Linked DNA regions of Homo sapiens: all the other regions are linked to region 1. Evidence: promoter capture Hi-C in 16 types of primary human blood cells and fetal thymus (Javierre and others, 2016). All regions are on one chromosome and are shown on one strand. Each heading gives the region's core, a stretch centred on a gene start or on the middle of the fragment in contact. The rest is flanking DNA. Distances are from core to core; before and after follow the strand shown. Region 1 holds the start of ZNRF2 (zinc and ring finger 2). Region 2 overlaps PLEKHA8 (pleckstrin homology domain containing A8). Region 3 has its middle 15 kb from the start of MTURN. Region 4 has its middle 7.0 kb from the start of GGCT.

The links. Contacts are between HindIII fragments. The CHiCAGO score rates a contact against its expected background, and 5 or more counts as called.
Region 2: a fragment that was not itself captured here is called in contact with the fragment with the promoter of ZNRF2 in region 1 in 1 of 17 cell types (naive CD8 T cells); the score reaches 5.9 in naive CD8 T cells.
Region 3: a contact is called between a fragment that was not itself captured here and the fragment with the promoter of ZNRF2 in region 1, in 2 of 17 cell types (neutrophils and total B cells). The highest score is 8.0, in neutrophils.
Region 4: a fragment that was not itself captured here is called in contact with the fragment with the promoter of ZNRF2 in region 1 in 1 of 17 cell types (naive CD8 T cells); the score reaches 5.5 in naive CD8 T cells.

The regions. Positions count from the first base shown.
Region 1 is chr7:30,281,180-30,287,350 of GRCh38, reverse strand. ZNRF2 (zinc and ring finger 2) reads right to left here and starts at 2,754. Exons shown (of 5, transcript NM_147128.4): 1 at 1,525-2,754. The coding sequence starts at 1,993. It overlaps LOC124901607 (a long non-coding RNA gene), which reads right to left. Exons shown (of 3, transcript XR_007060274.1): 3 at 3,097-3,152. LOC105375218 (a long non-coding RNA gene) reads left to right here and starts at 1,266. Exons shown (of 4, transcript NR_136267.1): 1 at 1,266-1,291. RefSeq lists silencers at 1,509-1,638, 1,789-1,868, 1,949-2,338, 2,419-2,468, 2,479-2,908 and 1 more. The HindIII fragment of the contact is 18,269 bases long and covers 1-6,171 here.
Region 2 is chr7:30,061,894-30,067,329 of GRCh38, reverse strand. PLEKHA8 (pleckstrin homology domain containing A8) reads right to left here. Exons shown (of 14, transcript NM_001197026.2): 11 at 5,303-5,433; 12 at 4,588-4,658. Among named protein-coding and RNA genes, the nearest start is that of PLEKHA8, 36 kb to the right of the region's middle. The HindIII fragment of the contact is 671 bases long and covers 2,617-3,287 here.
Region 3 is chr7:30,116,854-30,123,019 of GRCh38, reverse strand. It overlaps a transcript of PLEKHA8 not described here. Among named protein-coding and RNA genes, the nearest start is that of MTURN, 15 kb to the left of the region's middle. The HindIII fragment of the contact is 1,953 bases long and covers 3,241-5,193 here.
Region 4 is chr7:30,508,891-30,514,671 of GRCh38, reverse strand. No RefSeq gene overlaps it. Among named protein-coding and RNA genes, the nearest start is that of GGCT, 7.0 kb to the right of the region's middle. RefSeq lists an enhancer at 2,023-2,524. The HindIII fragment of the contact is 7,857 bases long and covers 1-5,781 here.

The DNA of each region.
Region 1 (6,171 bases), core at 1,505-4,004:
TGCAAATTTTCACTTTAAAAAGATAATGATAAACATTAAAAACCAGTTTGCCCTTCATTCTCGCACTAATCACCAATTCTCAGAAACTGCCTTTTATATTCTTCAGTGCGGACTACAGCAACTTCAACTGTTAGGTTAGTTGTGATCAAATCACTTTAAGGACACCAGTAGAGTTCTTTTACTCAAAATCAAAAGCAAATGACTTTTAAAAATAGCCCAATTTTAAGAGGGATGAATATTTTTAAGAAGCAAAAATTACTTTAAAACAAGGTAGCTAATTAAAAGTCAAGCGTCGTTCCAATTGAATTTGCAAAGCGTTACTAAAAAAATGGGAAAAATGAAACATGACATTCCTGTTTTTAATTTATGCTGGCGTGTGTGCTGATAGTACAGAACATGAGAACGGATAAATTACTACGTATTCCACTTTACTAAGTCTCCAAAGTTCCTACGTTTACAAATATATAAGTAAAAGCGGCACAAAAATGTAGGGGATCGTGTTTTCGCTGCTCATCTGTGCTCAGTTGCTAATTTTTCTAATACCAGATACATAATGCGATGAAATGGGAATGCTTATCTTCTATACTTCTATTTATTTTCATAAAGGGGAGAGGGGAGGTGGTCTTGATTCATTTACTATTAGCGTTTTGCAATAAAGTAGATCAGCATAAAACATAACTGAAGAAGTAGGATTCATTTTCCCCAGGACAACGCACACTTCCTCCTGTTTCTGTAGTAAAGTACATCACTTTGCTATTAAAAATGTCCATTTTTCACAACTGACTTTTCCTTAACTCTAGTCAACACTGCTCTTCAAAAGAACCTAGCCAATTATTGTACCTTGAAGACAGATGTGCAAAATTTTTACTTCCTTAAGAAACTTTTCCATTTTTTAAATGCTTTCCAAATTAAGCAGGACTCACATTAACTGTGATCTTAAGTAGCAGTTTAGTGAGGTTTAAAAACAAACTTTTCATTAACGCATTCATCCAATTAAAATGACATAGTAACTGGGACTACTGACACAGATTTCAGGATTACAGCTTTATACTAAAAGTCGGTCCAAACATGGTAACTCAGTGTTCATTTGAGACGCTTTGACTTTTGGCCTTTAAAAACTGTTCCCCACTCGAGTCCCCAGATAGAACTACATTTAGCAACTGGTCTCCTCCTGACTTCCTGGTACTAAAAACCACAACCACAAGGGCTGTTTCGTCGGTTTGTTGTAAAACAACATTTGCTCCAGTCATCTCACTGGAAAATAGACTTTCTCTACTGGGCAGCCGCTGAGGTGAGGGTGCTCAGGATGTTTAAAAACAAAACCACGCGTCTATGCGGTAGCGGCACCGCCGGTGTTAAGCGCCGGGTTTCTTCCAGGATGGAGACCGACGCGGGCTGGTCCGGGAGGCAGCCCCCGGCGCCCCGGCAGAAGGAGAAAAGGAGAAGGGTAAAAATAGCCGGCGGCCACGGCCCACGTGCAGCCGCGGGAGGACCGAGCGCGGGTGCGCGGAGAGGGGTCCGTACCTCCAAACATGTGCGGCGAGAGGTGAGCTGGTAAGGAGCCGATCACCAGGCGCGGCCCGCCGGGGCTCCCGCCCACCGGCCGGTCCCGGCCGCCGCCGCCGTCCTCAGGGCTGCTGTGCACCGAGTCCTGCGAGCCGTACGGGCCGCTGCTGCTGTTCGGGATGCTGAAGGGGGACTGCGCCGCGCGGGCCCCCGACGCCACGCTCCCCACGGCCCCGCCGAGGGAGCGGCTGCGCGGGGCCGCCGGGGCTGCCGGGGCCGCCGCGGCCGCCGCGGCGCCGCCGGAGGCGCTGGGCTGGTGCGCGCTGGGCACCTGAGCCGGGAACCTCCCCGCGGCGGCGGCCCGAGCGCCCCCGCCGCCGCCCGCGGTCCCATTGGCGCCTCCGCTGCTACTGGAAGGTAGATCCGAGCCCGAGTACGCGCGCGTGCGGCCGTTAGCGGCGGCCGGGCCGCTCTGTTTGGCGCCCATGTCCGCCCTGCCCCGGGCCGGGCCCGCGCGCTGCGCCCCGAGAGCCGGGAGGGCGGGAGCGAGCGCGGGAGCTAGAGGGCAGGGCCCAGGCGCCGCGGCCGGCCCAGAGAGGCCCCCGCACGTCCAGGGCCGCCGCCCGGCGTCCAGAGGGGCAGTCGGCGCCCGGCGCGCTCTTCTTGGGGCGGCGGGCGAGGCCGACGGCCTGACGCGGGCGCGGGAGACGAGGAGACGCGGAGAGGAAGGGGTCCCGGCTGCAGGCACCCCTCGCTGGCTCCAGCAGGAAGGGGCGGCTCAAGTGGCCGTGCGGCTGCCGCTGGTTTCGGTTCTGGTGCGCCACGACGGGCCGCTACCGCTCTCTGCTGCCGCGCTCGGCGCCCCCGATCTCGGCACCGCCTCCTCTCGGGCGGCCGCTGCTACCGCCGCCATCCTCCGGCTCCCACGGCGGCTGGCGGCTGAGTGGGAGGCGCCCGCCCAGACTCCGCCGGGGCCACCTTCCCTCCTCCCCCAGCCACCCAGCTGTTATTAACGGAGAAAGAGGAAAAACGGGTGGCGCGCGAGGGGAGAACGAAAAATGGGAGGGAGAGGTGGCGCGCGCTTCCCGGCAACCGTCGCCTCGCTCCCCCTGCGAAGGAGGGGCCGGGCTGGCGGGAGGATCTGGGCCGCGAAGGCGGGGGGTGCGCAGATGGGGAGGAGGTTCCCCGGCCCCGCGCCGGAAGGCCGCGGAGCGGCGCGGCTGCAGGGTGCGCCCGGCCCGTGTGTTTGGGTCGCGCGCGTTGACCCCGCCCCCGCCCCCTCGTGCCGCCAGGCCGATTGGCTCCCGCCGGCCTTGCTCCGCCTCCCCCTTCCGCGACCTGCCTGCCCCTGCTCCGCCTCGCCAAGGTACTGCGGTGTGGTAGGTGCTGCCACTCGTGGACTCGGTGATGGACAGGTCTCTGGCCACGCCCTCCCAGCCAGGGCGCGCCCTTGTCTTCCTCGCGGGGCCTACGCCGATAGGAGGAACGGACACCGGGCGCCAACCAGAAGGCGGCCCCTCCTCCCGCACGTGGCCCGCCGACGCTGTAGGAGCCTGTGTCAGCTGCAGCTTTTCCTGGCAGGGGGCGTGAATGGCTGTGTCCTCTGCCCAGAGCCGTTTGGTTTCGGTGGGTGTTGGTGTTACACACTGATTAAAAAAAAAAACAGAAGCTCAAAAGCCAGCTTGATCTCAGACTTACTCATGAAACACCAACCTGGGAGGAAGCGCAGAGTTGGAAGAACTCGGGATAATCCAGGTTGACCCTCTGTGGTAGGGCAAATACTGTGGTGCCAGGAACGCTGCACCTGACTCACAAAACCTAGAATCTAGGCCCAACACCAAACTAAATTATCTGTAGTGAGCAAATTATTTTACTTTTTTGGACTTTAGGTTTATTTTTGTTTTTGTTTTTGAGACGGAGTCTCGCTCAGTCACCCAGGCTGGAGTGCAATGGTGTGATCTCGGCTCACTGCAACCTCCGCCTCCCGAGTTCGAGCGATTCTCCTGCCTCATCCTCCAGAGTAGCTGGGATTACAGGCACGTGCCACCACGCCTGGCTAATTTTTGTATTTTTAGTAGAGACGGTCTTTCACCATGTTGGCCAGGCTAGTCTTGAACTCCTGTCCTCAAGTGATCCACCTGCCTCGGCCTTCCAAAGTGCTGGGATTACAGGCGTGACGTACCGCACCAGGCCGACTTTAGGTTTCTTACCTGAACTGTTTGTGTTAAATCCTAGGGCACCTGCCTCTTTAAAATCCTATAACTTCTCTAAAATGTAATAAAATTCTCCTCAGTGCCTTCCTCAGTGTTGGTGTGGTCTCTTCACGGCAGAGCAGGGTCTGGATACCCAGGGAACAGCCTGCTCTGAGACTCCCATTATGAAAATGTCTAGTCTCTACTTGAAAATAATAATAGCAAGTGGTGTTTTATAAAACTACAGAAATACTTTGTCATCTTTTCACTATTTGCAATAAGTCATTTATGTAATGATTTTCATCACTCTTAGGGTATGGGAATCAAGTTTTTAAACAAATGGAGAATATATGTATACATATAAAGACGTGTATCTGTGTACACAAACACACATATATACATGGAAAAACAAAGGTACCCAGTGCTTTATATGCAGTATCATGTTAAGATATGGTCATCATTTTGGTTAAGTGCCCTCTCCTTATAGATGTTTCCTGCCACCTCCTCCCCCATCCCAGCATCACAGACTGACTTCAGTGTTCCCACTCAGTGCTGTACAATACCTCCTTCATAGCTCTGATCATGTTATTATTATTATTAGATATCTTGCTTGTCACTACTCAATTGGCTCCATGATAAACTTCATGTCTGTACCTCCAGTGTTTAACACAGTGTCTGGTCTTGCCATGGTGCAATAAATGTTTTGTGAATGAATGAATGAATGAGTGAGTGAATACATGTATCCTCACCAGTTGTACTAAAACGATTCTTTCTTGAATGTCACTCATTAACTTATCATGTTCTTATTCTCCTTGACATTTCGCTTGTGGTGGGTGCCCCTTCCACCTCCTCTCTGGTGAGCCTTGTTTCTTTCCCCACGAAGGTTCTGGAGATAAAATGCTGGCCTTCTATGTTCTTTCCTTGGCCTTCTTTCCTCTCTCCTCACCCCTCTCATCTCTCTCCAGTCACCAGCATGAAGCTGTCAATGTGTGTTATTGTCAACCAAACAGTTCTGACTTCGTTGAAAATGTGTCGCTTATTTATTTATTTATTTATTTGAGACAGAGTCTCGCTCTGTCACCAGGCTGGAGTGCAGTGGTGCGATCTGGGCTCACTGCAACCTCTGCCTCCCAGGTTCAAGCAATTCTCCTGCCTCAGCCTCCAGAGTAGCTGGGTTACAGGCACGTGCCACCATGCCCAGCTCATTTTTTCGTACTTTTAGTAGAGACAGGGTTTCACCATGTTGGCCAGGATGGTCTCTAACTCCAGAACTTGTGATCCACCCGCCTCGGCTTCCCAAAATGCTGGGATTACAGGCGTGAGCCACCATGCCTGGCCATCACGTCTTTAGTATACCTACCAGTTCTTCAAAAATTAAAAGTGCTGCTTCATCCAAATGAGTACACACAGGTATACACACATGTAGAACTGCAACGGGTTTTTGAGATAATACCCATGCTACCTGAAATGCACTCTGCTTTCTATTTGACTTCACTTTTGTAAAATGCTGGTCACTGCTTATTGGATTGATTTTACACCCCCCTATGGGGATGTAATCTGCACTTTGATAAACAGTAGTCTAAATCAGTGCTTTGCAAACTTTAGCACACACAAGGATTACAGGAAAACCTTGTTAAAACAGGCTGTTGGGCCCCACCCTCAATGATTCTCATTCCATAGCTCAGGGTTGGGCCTGGAGAATTTGCATCCTAACAAGCTGCCCAGTGATGTTGCTGCCATCAGACTTCGGACTCTTGTTTGGAGAAGCACTGGTCTAAATGACGCTTTCCTCTACAATCAGAACTGTTGTTTTAATGCCTTCACCACTTATCAAGAGACCAGAGCCCCAGCTCTTTAAAATTTTTCAAATTTGAAGGTTTTAAAATACACTATATTCCTCCTGATGCAGTTCAATGATATTTTGACCAAAGGCTTTGGGGGTGCAAAATTAGTCTGAATGTATTGTTAAAGCACTTCACATTGACAAAATTATTGTCCACAAACTCACACTGGAACAGGTAAGCTACTTCTGGGCTTTCAATAAAAATGCCTGACCAATCAGTTTGTTGTTGTCTAGTTTGAAGTTTAGTTGGGGCAAGCCTCTTCCCTTTGTGTTCCCTTACTCTCCTTTGCATTCCTCTTTCCTCTCTTGGTTTCTCTTTTAAAACTCTGCTGGATCAGACCTTTGATGTGTGGGACAGCAAATTTGCATAGTGACACCCATTAGTCCTCTTGGTCGGGGACCACAGCCTCTCTACAGGGCTGTCCTGCAGCCAGCAGTAGCCCTACACATTTTGCTAAGGTTTTGCCATCCCACTTTTCCCCTTGTTATAGGATTTAAGAGATGGTTATGGCTTTGCTTTTTTTTTTTTTCAAGTAAGTGTTCATACACTACCTCATCTCTACCAAAATAGGACTATATGTATAATTGCCTATTTTTAAATAGGCCTATTTTCCTATTATTTTGCTTTTT
Region 2 (5,436 bases), core at 1,703-4,202, 220 kb after region 1:
CATGGCTAATTTTTGAATGTTTTGAAGAGACAGGGCTTCGCCATGTTGCCCAGGCTGGTCTTGAACTTGTGAGCTCAAGTGATCTGCCTGCCTTGGCCTCCCAAAGCGCTTTGGCATGTATTTTTAAAAGCAGAGCTACTAGGAGAGTAACCTCTGAATTCTTTATAGTGACTATGCTTAAGGCAAATTGACTTGTATGGACAATAACCAGTGGAAAGAGGTCAAACAAGCACCCAGAGATGCCCTTTGTTAATTTCAGGCACTGTTAAGACTAACGCTTGTGCTGCCAGCCAATCCTGCCAGTGGAGGCATATGCTGCAAATGGTTCTGGAAAGAGTATTACAATTCACATTCCATAGTATTTTCAGAATGGCCAACTTATGATTTGATGTCAAATATCTGATTATGAGTTCTGACTTTATCTCTCTCACTTATCTCTCCTTATCTGTGAAAGCCTTTCATATTAAATACATGACTGAGCATCCTTTTAAAATTTTTTCTATTCTGTGCCAGAAAAGGATCTTGGTTGGGTTAACTTTTACTGACATTTATGGGATCATTCTGAGATGAGATATGTGGCAATATGTTATCCCACTGAGCACAGAGCATATAACATTTAATACAATGGTGCATGAAATGCCAGAGCAACTTTTCTTCCTTCCACTTGCAAGGATGCTTTCCAAAACCTCTTTCTGATGTGGAATATGCAATGGAGAGGGGGACTCAGCTCTAAAGCAGATTATTAAACATATCTGCCTTGTGAACCCAACTCCCTCCTGAAAATGACCTCTAAAGAATGTTAGGACACTAAGGGAACACAGCAGCTCTTAGCATGAAACCACCCAAAATGTTCCACTCTGATTATCATTATGGGGAAGCCAAGTGATGGCTCAAGTGCAAAAAGGGGCAGTGTAAAGTCTAAGGCTCCTTCCAGATGCTGGAAGTATTCCAGGTCACAGAACTGCAGCAATACAATAACTAGAGATGCATTTTCCAGAAAGGTAAAGGAGACAAGGCTTCTACAATGTTATTTAGGACTTCTACATATAAATGTACTATTTCCAAGGCCATTAAGACCATACAAGTTTCATGAACATTCACCTCAAACCTTACTTAAGCAGTATTTTTATTGGAAAGCTGTCTAATTATGATGAAAAGGAGGAAAATAAACTGATGCTATAACTAATTTCAGCAGTTTTACTCCTGCTTATTAAAAATCTCTTAGATGCAGTCAAAATCACAAAATTATCAAGATGTAGACAAGTGACAGGTGAACCTCAAAGGCCTAAGTCTAGATGACTAGGTCTCAAACTTCAGCATGGATTAGAATCATCTGAAAGACTTGTTAAAACACGGACTGCCAGGCCCCAGCCTCAGTGTCTGATTCAGCAGGTCTGGGGTGGAACCGGATAGTCTGCATTTCTAATGAGTTTTCAGGTGATAAAGATGCTGCTGACCTTGGAACAGCTTGAGAACCACCGATGGAGATTTTGAGACCCTAGGGAAGGTATTTATCCTCTTTAAACCTCAGTTTATTCACTGGAGAGTATTTGGAAGATTAAATAAAATATTTATCAAAAACTTAGTGTAGTAGTTACACTGGGTGCTCTGTAAGTGATAGCTGTTTTTAAATTCAACTTTAGAATTTAAAAAAGCCAACAAACTTGCCTATATATGGCATATAAATTGCACACACTCTCTTTTACCTACTCACTCACCCTCCCTCATTTCAAACAAGGTATCAGTTCTACTTATGAAGGCTGGGACTTCAAAATGAGAAAAAGGAACCATTATCCCAGAAGAAATATGCATCAAGGAGCCTACAGGTTCTGAGTAACTATTGTGTAAACATTTCTCAAAAAACCGTTTACGCAGAGCTTGTTGTGTCTGTGTCTGTGGGAGGGGAGGGTGGGTTTAACAGGGGAACTTTGGAGGGAGGGTGGGTTTAATAGGGGAACTTTATCTCCTCATACTAAGCAGCAGCAAGAAACTAGGGATTTCCACAAAGATAGGATTTAAATCATAAACACCTTCTTTGAAATAAGCCTGAACATCAGGACAAAAATGTCAAATTTACAGCCTCCCTTCTCTTTTCCATTGAAAATTGTGCCGAAGGAGAAGAGAGGGAAGAAAAAGCTGAGACTGGCTGTGATTATTGCAGTCACAAAGCAGCATTTGCCCTTCAAAGTCTCCTCTTTCTTCACAAAGTCAATACATCCCCTGGGCCCAGTCTCCAAATCAAGTACAACATTTGATGAGAAACCTTGAGGAGAAAAGGAGAGAGAAAAGTGGGCAGAATTGGGGTTGGGACTGGATAGAAATGGTATATCCTGTTTCCTTTCTATGTCTAGGGGGGTCAAAGCCCATAAGCAGCTGGGTTCCGTTCCACCCCAGCTCTTCCAGTGGGCTAAATGGGATCAGCATTGTCCTACTCCCCTTCCATAGACAGCCCTAACAAAGTAATAGCAGCATGAGACAAGCGGAGTCCACTGGGCACACAGTGCTAAACCCTGTATCTTCTGCATTTCCAACAGGTGGAGAAGTCTTTCTGCTAGCATGAAAATTCCATACTAATAAGTTAGTTTGAAGTGAAGTTTCTGGCTTGGCACCTAAGCTTTGTAAACTTTCCATTACTGATGTGGGACAAATAAGTCTTATTTTCTGGCAGGTTATTAACTTCATATATCATGATTATGATAATGATGACAAAACATCATTATCACAACAATAGATGCTAATCTTGACGACTGAGCATTGTTTTTTTGTTTGTTTGTTTGTTTTTGAGACAGGGTCTGGTCTCACTCGATTGCCCAGACTGGAGTACAGTGCCATGATCACAATTCACTGCAGCCTTGACCTCCTGGGTTCAAGCAATCTTCCCACCTCAGCCCCCTAAGTAGCTGGGACTACAGGCACGCAACACCATACTCAGCTAATTTTTGTAGAGATGGAGTTTTGCCGTGTTGCATAGGCTGGTCTCAAACTCCTGAACTCAAGTGATCCTCCTGCCTCAGTCTCCGAAAGTACAGGCATGAGCCACCACACCCGGCCACACTGAGTGTTTTGCGTACCAAATACTTCTGTAATTTTTTCACATGCACATGCACCTACTTAATATTTACAACCACCTTGTTAGGGAAATAATATCACCATTCCCATTTTATAGATGAACAAAGTGAGGATCAGAGAGGTTAAATAACTTGCCTAAGGGCAGAGCACTAATAAGTGGCAGAATCCAGAGAGCCACTCCAGAGCTCCTGATCCTACACTCCACAAGCCATAAAGCTTGACAGATACTGGCTAGGGGGCATGAGTAGACATGCTGAATATACTTTTAGTACTTGAAATCAGGACACAGAGGGGAGAATATAACTGAGACCATCCTGAAATTCAGGGATGTATGGGGAATGTAAAAATGCAGGTGGCCCAGGAATGGTGGAAAAGACCCTTTGTAGGAGAAATGTGGACCTTCAAAGCAGGGGCCTCAAAGCCACTCTGCTTCAGACCTTATGCTGGTCTTAAGCAATATTTTAATCTTACAGTTCCCTAACCTGTAAAAATGGATTGAAATGAGGATTAAGTTTATGAAGTCTACATTGTTCACAAAGTGCTATAGAAATGTCAGCTCTCATTTTTATGGCAGATCAGCAGTTGCTAGATGGGGCAGACTCGGGAAATCACGTGGGGGCAGAATTCTTGAGGACTCATGGCCCAGAGAGAGGACTAACAGAAGGAGGTAGAACCCAACTGTGACACTGAAAAAAAGCCACAGAGAACACTAGCTCCCTCTCAAACCAGAAGCATCTAATTAGTTTATGTCACAGTTCATTTTTTTCTCCACACACGCCTCATGGCCCATGCTAGAAGAATTTCCTATAGATCAATGGTGAGAGTTCAGCCACTCCATTAGAAGCACTCTAAGGATGCTCCCCAATCTCAACATTTTCCAAAACTGGTCTGATAAATGGCTCTATCCACACATCCATCCATCTACCTACCTGTCCAATGTTTATTAAGCACCTACAATGTTGCAGTCACTACTTTAAGGTGCTGGAGATATAAGATGATCTCCTCTGACCAAGCCCTTCATCCCATTTTGGCTTTATGACTAGAAACTGGGACGCACACAGCATTATATATTTGAGGAGTTACACGACGACGACGAAAACCTTTACTCTTACTCCAGAACAAATCCCTGGGATTCCCCCACGCCAACCCGCTGTTATGGTGTTCAAGCTTTTCTTTGTATACTGATTTTCAAAGACTATAATATATTTGAAGATTTAGGAAAACTAACTTCTTGATAATATTAGGTCTTCCTATTATGTTTAAGAGATGGCTTTCCACTTATTCAGCACGTCTTTAAAATATACTGATTTTTAGTAAGTTACATCTAGATTACCAGGTCATTGTCTCATAGGTACTTTTAAACAAAGCATATAAGAAGCAATGAATAATAATGAAATAAGAAAAGAAACAAAATCAAATTCTGAAAAGCAGAAATATCCCCTATACCCTGTATCCTCCTCTAGGGGTCTCCATTCCACAGTCTATTGACTCATTCAACAAAACATAAAGAACACTTACTTAGGGCTGTCTGGATATCCTTCTCCCCATTTTTCACTTCTGTCAAAAATCCCTTCAAAAATTTGAGACCTCTAAAACAAAATAAAGGAAGAAATATTATTTTCAAAGTTCACTTATGTTGAGTGGGTATAAAGAAATGGCAGACATCAGCTTCCATTTCAGTAACATCTTAGGCACAGCAGTGAATAGGTCAAATCATATGGCAGTCCTTCCTGAACCTCTTCCCTTCACTTCCCTTTAGCTTGCTCTGGAGCCCATCTTTCATCTCATCTGATATACCTAAAGAAGTGGTTTTCAAAATGTGTCCCAGGACTAGTGGCTTTAGCATCACCTGGGAATTTGCTAGAAATGCAAATTCTGGGGCCCCACCCGAGTTACTGAATCAGAAACTGTTTCCGAGTCTAGTGTTTTTAACAAGTCCTCCAGATGATTCTGATGCCACTGAAGTTGGAGAGCCACTGATTTAAAGAGAAGCCAGTTGACTTTAATGCCTTTAAGATTCCTATCTTATATATACTTATCAACAATATTTATCACCATCAAAAGAGAGGCAAAAAAAAAATAAGGTGGTATTATTCATTAGGCCTTCTAGAAAAGGCTACACAATTCAACTAGATCCTTCACTCAGAAGTAGTCTCCTTTGTGTAACAATTTTTTTTGCTGGTAATTTTTTTTGAGCTAGATTTTAACTGCTGTCCCACCCCAGCTGCCTCACCTCTTCAGCCACAAGAGGGCTTCAGTCGCTGAGTTCCTAACCTGGGCTACATCCGCCTCCACTTCGTGCAGCACTATCTTCTGGAGAGTGGTAAACTCTTCTTTGTTGGTTATATACTTCTGATTTACTTTCTG
Region 3 (6,166 bases), core at 2,968-5,467, 170 kb after region 1:
CAGGAGACCTTTGTATAAAAGTCCAGAATATCTCACAGAACCCAAGGACAGGAGTGGGTTTCATGATAGCTGAGAACCAGGAACTAGAAAACTACCAGGAACTACTATTTCCAGTCCCTTCCTCTCTCTCTCTCCCACCCCTCCTCTTCTTTGTCTCTAGCCAGATCATTTTCCATCCTTTACTTTGCACATCTGTTCTGTTCTTCTCTTAAAATATCCACTTTCCTGCTTCTCCTGGCATGTGGAGGAGAATGCTTTTCTATGATGGCAGCTTCTGCTCATCAGTTTCCATTACCTTCATTCCAGTTAACAGGTTGTCTATTACTGAACCCCAGCTCCAATTTGATTGGCTCACCTCAAACTCAGGAGTCCCTTCATGGACAGGAGAGCAGAGTGAGCCATCACAAACGTTATGTCTTATGGAGATGGAGATATTCTCAATGGAAGGGGGTACTGAGCTGGGAAGACACTGCAAAAGGTATTTATTTCAACAGTTACATTGTGGTCGTTTTTCTATACATACAAGTGCAAGGTACTACCAGAAGGAAAGGAGAAATTTACAACTATAAGGCTTTTAGACAACCATGATTTTTTAAAAAACAACTTCTTGCAAGGGGGTGAATTCATAGAATATAGGAAGCTGAATGTGAGTCATAATAACCTTATTTAAGAAAGTGGGGGAAAAAAGCCCAGTGGAAAGTAAGCCAAAAGCATAACAGATAACGGTTTTAGGGTCTTGTATGATCTATGTATATTTGGCAGTGAGGACACCAAGAGATCCATATATAGATACAGTGGTATTTCTTTTCTGAAACAATTAGAATAGCCAGATGGGCCAGTTTTCTACAGCAGCTTCTAAGCCAATGTGTTCTGATTCTACCTCTTAGAAGAAAGGCCATCTGATGGACGCCCAGGCAGAATCACAAAAAGTTTCACACTGACATTCTCATTTCTTTAGTCATAGCTCTTACAGTGCTTTATATACACATATAAAAATCTAGGCATATTACTTTCCTTTATAGGTCTCTAAGGCCCACCTAGTTCAGCCCTCTTCAAAAGTTCTTTGTGGCAATCATACCAAGATAGTTGGATGGCACTTCTGTAGAATGAATAGCTCCAAGCAACTCTAGGCCTGGGCAGGAAAAGTGTGAACTCCCTGGTATGTGCAGGACAGAACCACATTGACAAGGCCAGCATCTTTTCCTGGAAATAGCAATTTGCTAGTTTTGGATCTTTGACCCTGCTTATTTATTGATTTGGAAATTTAAACAGCATCATCTCCAAAATGTGCCTCTGGGCAGAGATACAAAGATTAAAAGTCATACATGAAGGCAGCCAACTCTTTTTCCTTGTAAAGGAAAGGAAATCAATAAACTGTAGGGTTTTTTTTTTAGACAGGGTCTCGCTCTGTCGCCCAGGCTGGAGTGCAGTGGCGCAATCTCTGCTCACTGCAACCTCCGCCTTCTGGGTTCAAGCGATTCTCCTGCCTCAGCCCCCCAAGTAGCTGGGATTATAGGCTCCTGCCACCACACCCGGATAATTTTTGTATTTTTAGTAGAGAGGGGGTTTCACCATGTTGGACAGGCAGGTCTCGAACTCCTAATCTCAAGTGATCTGCCCGCCTCAGCGACCCAAAATGCTGGAATTACAGGTGGGAGCCACTGTGCCCAGCCAATAAACTGTAAGTTTTTCATCCCTTTGGCCACTCCTCTCTTATCATGGTGGCCCAAATCCCTCTCTGGGTCTGTTTCCGACCACTGTCTTCCTGACATCTACCCTGAGCTGCCACTTTCTGACCAACCTCCCATGGAAGAAAACGGAAGCATGCGTGGGTCAAAAAAGAGGCAAACCTGAAAAAGAGAAAAAGATACCTATTTTTTCACGTGGAACCCTGCCACTGCTGCTTCCTGGTAAATCACAGTATGTATCCTTTGGTTCTATCGTTGGGCCATTGTTACATTTTTCCCACAGATTAAATAGATTAATCGTAAAATCTACTATGATTGATTTGGTAAAGAAAAAGTCAGTTCTCTGGTGTCAATATGTTACTAGTATTCCTCCAGCAAAGGCAACCATGGGTTGGCCTTCTGTCCCACTGTCCTTTTTGTTTTAGCATTTGTCTTGGAAATAATTGTCACAGTTTGGATGATCAGTTACATGATCATTCTACCTGTGGTACTAATGCTCAGAGAAGCAGATCAGAAACCTACTTACGGTGTTTGAAGTCCCTTATTTGTATCTTTAACCAAAGCAAGGTGGCCACCAATCAAGCCAACTGAATTACAGGAAGTTTCAACTAATGCTCTCAAGTGAACATGCATTAATTTCACCCAAACTAGACCTGACTGGTGACTTTAAAATTGGTTCTTAGTTGTGTTTTTTCCAATTTCTCCACTTCACTGTGTTAAATTAAGTTTAGCCTGAAGCTGCCTCCTTACATATTTAGGTCCAACCTAAATGTTTAACTGAAACCTAATTGGATATGTAAACAGACTGTTGTAACCTACACTTGCACCAATCGCAGAGTTCTGGCCAATCATAGGCATATTGCTTTCCTTTACAGGTGTTAGTTTGGCCAATCACAGGCAGCCAACTGTTTAAATTGTATTCAAATAAAGCAAACGCTGAGCTGTAACCAATCCAGCTGTTTCTGTACCTCACTTCCGCTTTTTTGTACGTTACTTTCCCTTTTTTGTCCTTAAATGTTAGCCCACCATGTAGCAGCCCTGATTCTAGAGGCTGCCCCATTCTCAAATTGTTATTTACTCAGTTAAACTCTGTTAAATTTAATTTGTCTAAAGTTTTTTCTTTTAACACCTGCCAACATGTTATTTTCTGTTTTTTTTTTTGTTTTTTTTTTTTTAATTATTTGTATTACAGCCATCCTACTGAGTATGAAGAGGTATCTCATTGTGGCTTTGATTTGCATTTCCCTAATGACCAAGTTCTTAGCTTTTTGATAGCACAGAGAAGACTGTTTGCTCTCAGAGGCTTGCATTGTATCTTAGAGGTTTAATATTCTCAGAGCTGAGAATACAGTAGGTGTTAACAAATCTCTCATTCAGCAAACATTCACAAAAAGAGCCTGAGTTGTGTATATCAGCTGAGTACCAATAAGAAAGAGTTATATTTAGTGTCAGGAGGCCAGAAGATCAGAGCACATAAATACATCCTAAAGACTGTGACAACAGGCTCCTAAGGTGACAAATTCACACCTCAACATGAAGCAGGGTGGAAGCTTTAGAAGCTCTCGAATCTGATGCAGCAAAATGGTGGCTGAAGGTCAATTACAGTTAAAACAGGTATAAGCGGCTGTTTTCATCTCCCTTTTCATTGTAATAAAATGTGTCTTGGCAGAAACCTCTCCAAAGGAGATGGGTGCCCACTTCCCAGAGGTGTTTGGTGGATTAATGTGAGCAAAACACTGTGATGGTAAGACTTCTGCTGCAATTGAATGGAGAGTGCTCTTATTAATGAGACTTCCAATTCGGAGCATTTACTACATATAAGATACTGTCCTCGGCAGTTTCTTAATAGCTGAGAATGTAATGCACGGCTTTGAGACATTATCTCAATCTTAATAACAGCTGCCTCCGGGGCTGCAGCACAGGTTCTGTCTGGGTTTAGATCTGAGCTTTCATGTACTAGCTATGAGATTTAACCTCCGCATGCATCAATTTTCTCATCTAAAAAGGAGGAAATTAAAATGCCCACCTCTTAGGGTTGTTTTCAGGATGCAGATTCCTACATGGAAAGAAGTCAATACATGTTAATTCCCTTTGCCTTCACTTAAAATTAGGAATATTACAGATATTATTCCTTCTATTTTCTAGATGGGAAAAGTGAGGGATAGGTCCCGTAGTGACTCAGAAGTCATCATCTTTTGGGGTGCCCTCCCAGCTCACAGCCATTTCCAATTCCCTGGGAACTGTCCCCTGACCCGAGGTGATGAACCCACAGCAGTCATGTCTGTACCACGGGCCAATGCCCCTCAGGCCACCATTGATTGAATGGAGGAAGACAGACATGGGACTTAAGTGGGCCAATCAGATTCTTGTACAAGAATTTGGGAATGAGGCCAAGATACAGAAAGGTAGAATCTGCATGTGGCTAAAACTGTGTCACGTAACTTAGGCATTGATGCCACTATATTCTGTCAGATGAATGGGAGACGTGGAGAAAGATGGGCCTCAGACGGGCGGATCACAAGGTCTGGAGATCGAGATCATCCTGGCTAACACGGTGAAACCCCGTCTCTACTAAAAATACAAAAAATTAGCCAGGCGTGGCGGCGGGCGCCTGTAGTCCCAGCTGCTGGGGAGGCTGAGGCAGGAGAATGGCATGAACCCGGCAGGCGGAGCTTGCAGTGAGCCGAGATCGCGCCACTGCACTCCAGCCTGGGCGACAGAGCAAGACTCCGTCTCAAAAAAAAAAAAAGAAAGATGGGCCTCAGAGAGAGAAGACAGAAAGATATGCAGTAAGAAGCAGCCATGGCAGCTAAGAAAAGATCCCAATGGCTTTCAGCTCCTGGTTCTAGTCCTTTCTCAGCCCAGCCCATGCCTTTCCCCTTGGATTCCATGAGCTGTCCACCTACCTGCAGAGTTATTATAAAGCCCCTCATGTTGCTTCTCGTAGTTTGGTGGGCAAGATTTTCACAGGCCACAAACTCAAATAGGCAAGCAATTGAGCTTTATTTTCTTGTAATATAATTTAATTTCTCTTTTGAGACCTCATTCTATCTGATGGCAGAAAAACAATCAAATAAGTTCCAGATAGACTCAGTCATTTCAGGGTTTTCTCAGGCATTTTAGATCTCACTTAACTCAGGATACTCTCACATACTTCCTTCTCTCCAGGAGGCATCTCGGGGCTTGCTGGGCATCCTGGCCCAGGAGAGGCATTTAGTCCAGGCTGATCCCCTGGAGAGAGGCGTCACCCAGATGTGATGCATCCTGTCTCATGCTGGGTCATCATGTCCTGCAGGCCACTCTGCACCCGCCTGATTCTGAGTGACAGCCCTCCTGGGCCACCATCAGACATTTGTGTGTCCCTGTTAGAAATGAATCCACGTCTCAGTTTTTAAATTTTTTAAAAAATAAAAATATGAATAAAGTCTTGGCAATCTTTAATCTACAGGAAGTAGAGTTGTGTAGTTATACTTCTGTTTCTAATATCTTGTTGGCAACATAAGCTTTGTGCCTTCATTTTTTTAGTGTGCACACTAAACTTTTGAAACTTAAAATTATTTTTCTCATAAATTCTGGCAGTTGTAAATCAAAACTGTTGTTTTTTAAAGATTTTAATTTTTTTCTGGAGGGGGGTCTTGCTCTGTCACACAGGCTGGATGGAGTACAGTGGCATGATCATGGCTCACTGCAGCCTTGAACTCCTGGGCTCAAGTGACCCTCTCGCCTCAGCCTCCTGAGTATCTGGGACTACAGGTGTGTGCCAACATGCCTGGCTAATTTTTTTATTTTAGTGGAGATAAGGTCTCACTATGTTGCCCAGGCTGGTCTCAAATTCCTGAGCTAAAGCAATCCTCCCACCTCAGCCTCCCCAAGTGCTAGGCTTACAGGCAGGAACCATCGTGCCTGGCCCTAAATTTAATTTTTAATAAATTACATTTTAAGGCTATTATTTCTACTACAAATTTTAAGAAACTAACTTGGAACTAATTTAAGTCTCAAGAACCTAACTTGGAACTCAAATTCATTTGGCCAAGACATTGTATAGTGCTAACTTAAGTGGGAAGGGCCATGGGGTAACTTCTAGGAAATGCACACACACATATAATTTCATTGTATGGCATGAGTTTGAATCGATTTCTCAATTACTGTGAGCTGAGAACCCCAGTCTCCCAAAAATGCTTTCTATCCTTGACCCTGCCTGCCTCTCACAATTTCCAGGCTGTCTCCTTAATAACGTTCAATCTGCCTTCCACAGTCATTACGTCAACTGGGCACAGATGCTGGAAGGCAGACGGAAAGGCGGTGACAAAGTTAGACCTACATTTGCAAGACCAAGTGAAACACACACCCACTCTCCTGAAGCCAAACTGCTTTTGGAAGGCGGGCAGGGGAGTGCCATTCCCTCTAGCATACTTGTCATTCCCAGCCTAGGTTTCAGATCCTTTTTATACACTGGCCTGTGGAGAGACTTGCTGCTA
Region 4 (5,781 bases), core at 2,070-4,569, 230 kb before region 1:
CTGCCTCCAAAGGGCTTACCATCTACTGAGAAATCCGACTAATCAGACAGGAAAGACTCAGATAATGAAGGCTTGCATAAGAGCCTGAATCTGATAAGGTAATGAACAAAAGACAGCCTCTACAGGTTTTTATAGATAGAAATGAGATGATAAAATCAAATTTAAACAATGTATCTTAACTCCCTTCCGGCCTTTCATTTCCATTCCATGAATGCTACCCTGGCTTAGGCTTTCATGACTTTGCCTATTTGCAGTGACCTTGTATTCAGCACTCTGCCATCTCTCCCACTACTTCCTCCCAAGCCATCCTGAACACAGGCCACATGTTTGATTTTCTAATCGTACACAAGGGAACGTCTCTGCTCAAAAGCCAAAAATGACTCTTCTTTGGCCACCAAATAATCTGAACTTTTTGGTGTGAAACTCAAGGCCCTGCCAGAAACAATATTAATCTCCTTCCAGACTGTCTCCCATTTCCTAATATTAACCCCTTGCTCTGTTGAAATTGAAGCCATTTTCCAAAGCCACCTCTGTGATGTCCTTATGTAATTCCCGCCCTCTTCTTGTCCTCCCCTGCAACCCTATCTCCATAGAAAAGCAGTCAGAAAAACCACCCTAGGAATTGATGCAGTAATCCAGGAGTGAGATGAGGATGGGAGGGAGAGGGTGAGCATGTGGGGATGAGGAGGAGGGTGGGACACAGGGAGTAGCCACAGACCTTAATGACTGATGGCAGATAGGGTGTGAAGGAGAGAGGTGAGTCAAAGGTAACTTATTTTCGGTTTTAGGCAACAAATACAAATCTTTCTCAATAACTACTCATCCCACATCCTTGTGGCTATTGGAGGTTGATATTTATTTCATACTGCCTGTATAACCTGGGACCATATATAATTAATGATGATTACTCTGTATTCTAGATCACGAATATATATATCTATATAAATATATACAAATATATAAATACAAATATATATATATATATATATATATTTACCTTAATGCAGGCACAACCAAATACTTTACTTTTGGAGCCAGATGTCTTTAAGATACACTCTAAAATATTATTGTGGAATTAGATACACTGCTTTCCACGTAAACCATTAATAGATACATTGAATAAGAATCTTTATTTCATTCCCAGTGTGGTTTGGAGTATAAGACTTAGGAAAGTGTCTGTGAAACCTACAGTGAGAAATTCCACTGGGTCTTGACAGCTGGAGTGAGCACTCAAATGTGCCCAGCACTTTTCTCTAGCTCCCTTCTCTGCTTGAGCTGTGGTCTGCTTTCTCCTTCTCTGTAGCTCAGATCATCTTCCTCCACTTCTCAGCCCACATGTCTAACGTGGCTGGGACCAGCTCAGAGTGTTTCAAATGTGTAGGTGCTCGGAGAGAGAGAGACCCAACCCTCTTAGACTCAGGTACACATTCTCAGGGAAGAAAACTGGAACCAGTAGAAATATCAGATCCCTATGTTCCCTGACGAGTGCTTCCTTCTCTAAGAAGAAAAACCTACTAAGAAGACAAATTACAGCTGGAAGGTTGTTTGGTAAGCGTGGAATCACCTATCTAATCTCCCAGCAAGTCTTAATTGCTCTACCATAAAAAAAAAGCAACCCAAATCCATCCTTTTCCCAGCTTCACTCCCTAGTCCAAAGCCACCATCCACCCTTGTCTAAACCTCTGCAGGACTGTCTTTGCTTATTTCTTTTCTTTTCTTTTTCTTTTTCTTTTTTTTAAGCGGAGTCTCACTCTGTCACCCAGGCTGGAGTGCAGTGGCGCGATCTCGGCTCACTGCAAGCTCTGCCTCCCGGGTTCACGCCATTCTCCTGCCTCAGCCTCCCGAGTAGCTGGGAGTACAGGCGCCCGCCACCATGCCCAGCTAATTTTTTTGTATTTTTAGTAGAGATGGGGTTTCACTGTGTTAGCCAGAATGGTCTCCATCTTCTGACCTCGTAATCCACCCACCTCAGTCTCCCAAAGTGCTGGGATTACAGGCGTGAGCCACCGCACCTGGCCCTGTCTTTTCTAATTTCTTAACTATCATTTCTATCCCCTTAGAATTGATTCTCCACTCAGCATGCAGAATTATCCCTTTGAAAATCAGATTATATTCCTACCTAAACCACCCCCAATAGCTTGTGACCTCTTAGAATCTAGATTCCTTAACATGGCCTCAAGGGCCCACGTGACCCAGCCCCTGCCTGTCTCTCTACCTCATCTCCTACTGCTCCTGCTTTTGTTCCTTCCACTCTAATCACTTGACCTCCTGACCTCAGTCATGCTAATAAACTCATGCCTCATTTAGATTTATTTTCCTAGTGGAAGAAAATGCATTGATCTGTGAACACAAATACATGGTTTATCTGTTACAGTTCTCATTGCATGTCAACAAACTGACATTCTGATGTGTACATCCATCTCTTATGAGTCTGCTTAGTGTGAATCTGCCCCCTCTGGTAGTACTGACAAGATTGTGTTTCTCAGCCCACAGAGCTAAGACACAGACTCATGAGACCCAGTCTCTGTCTATACCACTAGAGTTCTACTGCCCCTGAATGGCATTGCCTGCACAGACAGCTGGCCTTCCTCAGCAGACACACAGCCTTTGTACCATATAACTCTTCAGACTTGCTATGATGTACCAATGTCTTTCCTTGAAATGCTCTTCTGAAAATGATAAATGCTAAAACTGATTACAATGCTATTGAAAGTGGATGAGCAAGTTGATCTGCTGAGATGTGAAAACAAATTCTATTTTAATTTTTAATCTAAAATATTAGAAAGAATTTTGTTTCCTATACTTTGCTATATTTAGTAAATATACACTAATATAAGAATTTTGCTTTACTAAAACAGTAGAACCCTCAGTTAGCCAGGCAGTCATCATCTGTCACATAAAAGGTGTCCTGAGGAGGAATGGGAGTGCCTCCCCTGGGGAAGAGGCTGATGGTGGCTCTGGCTCTCAGTCAGTCGCTTTCCTTATCTTGGTATTTACTGTCATTTATCTGGGCTTAGCTAAACAGATTTATAGAGAATTAACTCTCACAAAATGGGAACATAATTTAAAAGATTTCTGCAAAGAATTGGACAGGAACTCTTGTCAAAATTGTAAGCAGAAGAAAAGAAAAAAAGAAAGGGACAGAGCCGACATTTCTCATACTTCTGGTACAAGCTCCTCATCACATTCATTGTGTTGTAAAAATAATGGTGATCTAGTAACATCTGACAAGGTCAGCCAAAATGATACATATAAGAATTTAGCTCTCCACCTAGGAGGGCTATTAGCAATAAAATTTCCATCTACTATAACTTATAATTAACTTTGACCTATATGTGTATTTCCCTTGAGATTGGCCAATGATTGATTGAAACTACCACAATTAATGACAGATAAAATAGCTTTTTTATTTTAAAATTTCTATTTTGTGGGTATTATAGAATGTATTTTATATATTAATATACATATAATTATATACTATTATAATCATATATTAATATTAACATATAATTGTGTGTGTTCAAAAATTTTTAATGGCACAATCAAAAAACTTTAAAGACCACTGGATTAAAAGATGGTATTTAGGGCCCAGCACAATGACTCAAGTCTGTAGTCTCAGCACTTTGGGAAGCTGAGGTGAGGGGATCGCTTGAGCCCAGGAGATCAAGACCAGCCATGGGCAATATGGCAAAACCCCATCTCTACAAAAAATACAAAAATTAGCCAGATGTGTTGCAACTGTAGTCCCAGCTATTCAAGAAACTGAAGTGGGAAGATCACTTGAGCCTGCAAGGTCGACGCTGCAGTGAGCCATGATTGCACCACTCCAGCCTGGGAGACAGAGCAAGGCCTTGCTTCAAAAAATAAAAATAAAAGATGACATTAAGAAGAAATCTGATCTCATTGTCTTTATTATCAAGTGATTGAAGGCTATAATCATTATTTAATAATCTTGTAGATAATGATTGTACTTGAAAGTGGGCTATTAATAACTAGATATATCTAGAGCACCAAGGTTTTACAATTGTTAGAAATTTGAGAAGCAGCACCCAGTAGTGACTTAGAGTCAGACTGCATGGCTGAATCTCTGCTTCAGTCATTGCTAACTACAACCTGGGGCAAGTTAGTTGACCTACTATGCCTGTTTCCTCACTGTAAAAGGAGAATAATATCAGTACTTTCCATATATGACTATTTTCAGGATTAAATGAGCTAATACATTTAAGAATTTAGGCCAGTGCCTGGCATTTCAGAAGTGCTCAATGAATGTTAACTAATATTAACCTGGCTTTGGTTAAATTTGAAAAAACAAACACAAAAACACAACTTTGTGTAGGTAACTTTGTTACCTACTGCCCCTTGCTGGCCAACCTGGGTCAGTACACTGCCATCTATGTGGGGAAGCTAAATAAATAAGTGCTTGGAGTAAGGAAAGATTTTCAGCGTTGAGGGTAATATCAATGCTAAACTTATGAATATTTTTGCAAAATAGTCTTGAGAAAAATCAATTGTCATGAAATTAAGTAATTAGCAAGAAGTATAGGAAGAGAAATTAAATATCTGTAACAATAATTAAATAATAAGCACATTTTAGATTCTTAAGAGCAGTTGAAAAGCAAGACATTTTAAATTGCAGTGCTCTAAAATAGGACCCTTGAGAATTTATGGTGTAATAGAATATGATTTGCCAGGAAAAGCAACTTGCTCCCTGAAATGACCAAGTATGTATTTCAAGTTCTGCCTAGATGTTTGAGGGGTGGGAGGAGGTATTATCTTCTGTAGGGAGACCCCCTGAAACTACTGCTACAGAATAAAAGATGAAATGCTCCTGGTTATTGTAAATACAAAGTTGCATGCAGGATTGTGTAAAGACAATGCCAGGTTGGGCTGCCAGAATGAGCCAACAGCGCGTGATGTGCTTCCCCCTGCAGAGAGCCTATGAACAGACGTGCAGTCAGGGAGGTTTCACATCACCAAGATTCCTATCCCAGAAAAGCAGATGTTCAGAGCTCTGGGAATGGAATGCAACGCTTGTGGAGAGCCTATAAGCAGATGCATGAGGGGCACCTGTTCATATGGATAAGATAGGGCTACAAACACCCTCATCTTGCCATGGCTCTTCTAGGCCTCTTTAGGGTTAAGGCATACTCCCTTCTGAGAATTTCTGGTCTAACCGGTTGTCTAGCTTCACGTCCTGTTTCCATGGATTGTTTGTAACCAGCTTTTGCTGCAACAGTTACTGCTGATTAATATCTTGCTAATCATAGGTTATGGACAGACTGTGTTTCTGTTTCAAGGCTCTGTTAGAAATGACTGATGTAAATTCTTATCTCTGTATACTGTACTTCTGCATATAGATGTTATGTTAAAGAATTACTTCATCTCCATGTGACTATCTCACCTCATAATCAAACGACCCTAAATCCCTCACTAACCTACCCCTGACCTCACTAAACTTAATAATAAATGCTGGTATATCCAGTGCATTGGCGGCACCACGGGACCAGAAGATGGTGACCCCCCCTGGACCCAGTTTTCACTATCTTGTGTGCGTCTATTATTTCTCGACCTGCCGATCTGCCCGTGAACAAGGAAAGAGCCCCATTGCATTGCGGGCTGCGGGGCAGATCCCACAATAATCTTCCTATTTGCAGATTGTATAATAATAATAATGCTATTGCTTATTGAGTGCTCACTACATGGCAAGGGCTTTCCATATATCACCTTTTTCCTTGTTCTTTTTTTAACATGAAAATATTCAAACATATATACATTAAAAAT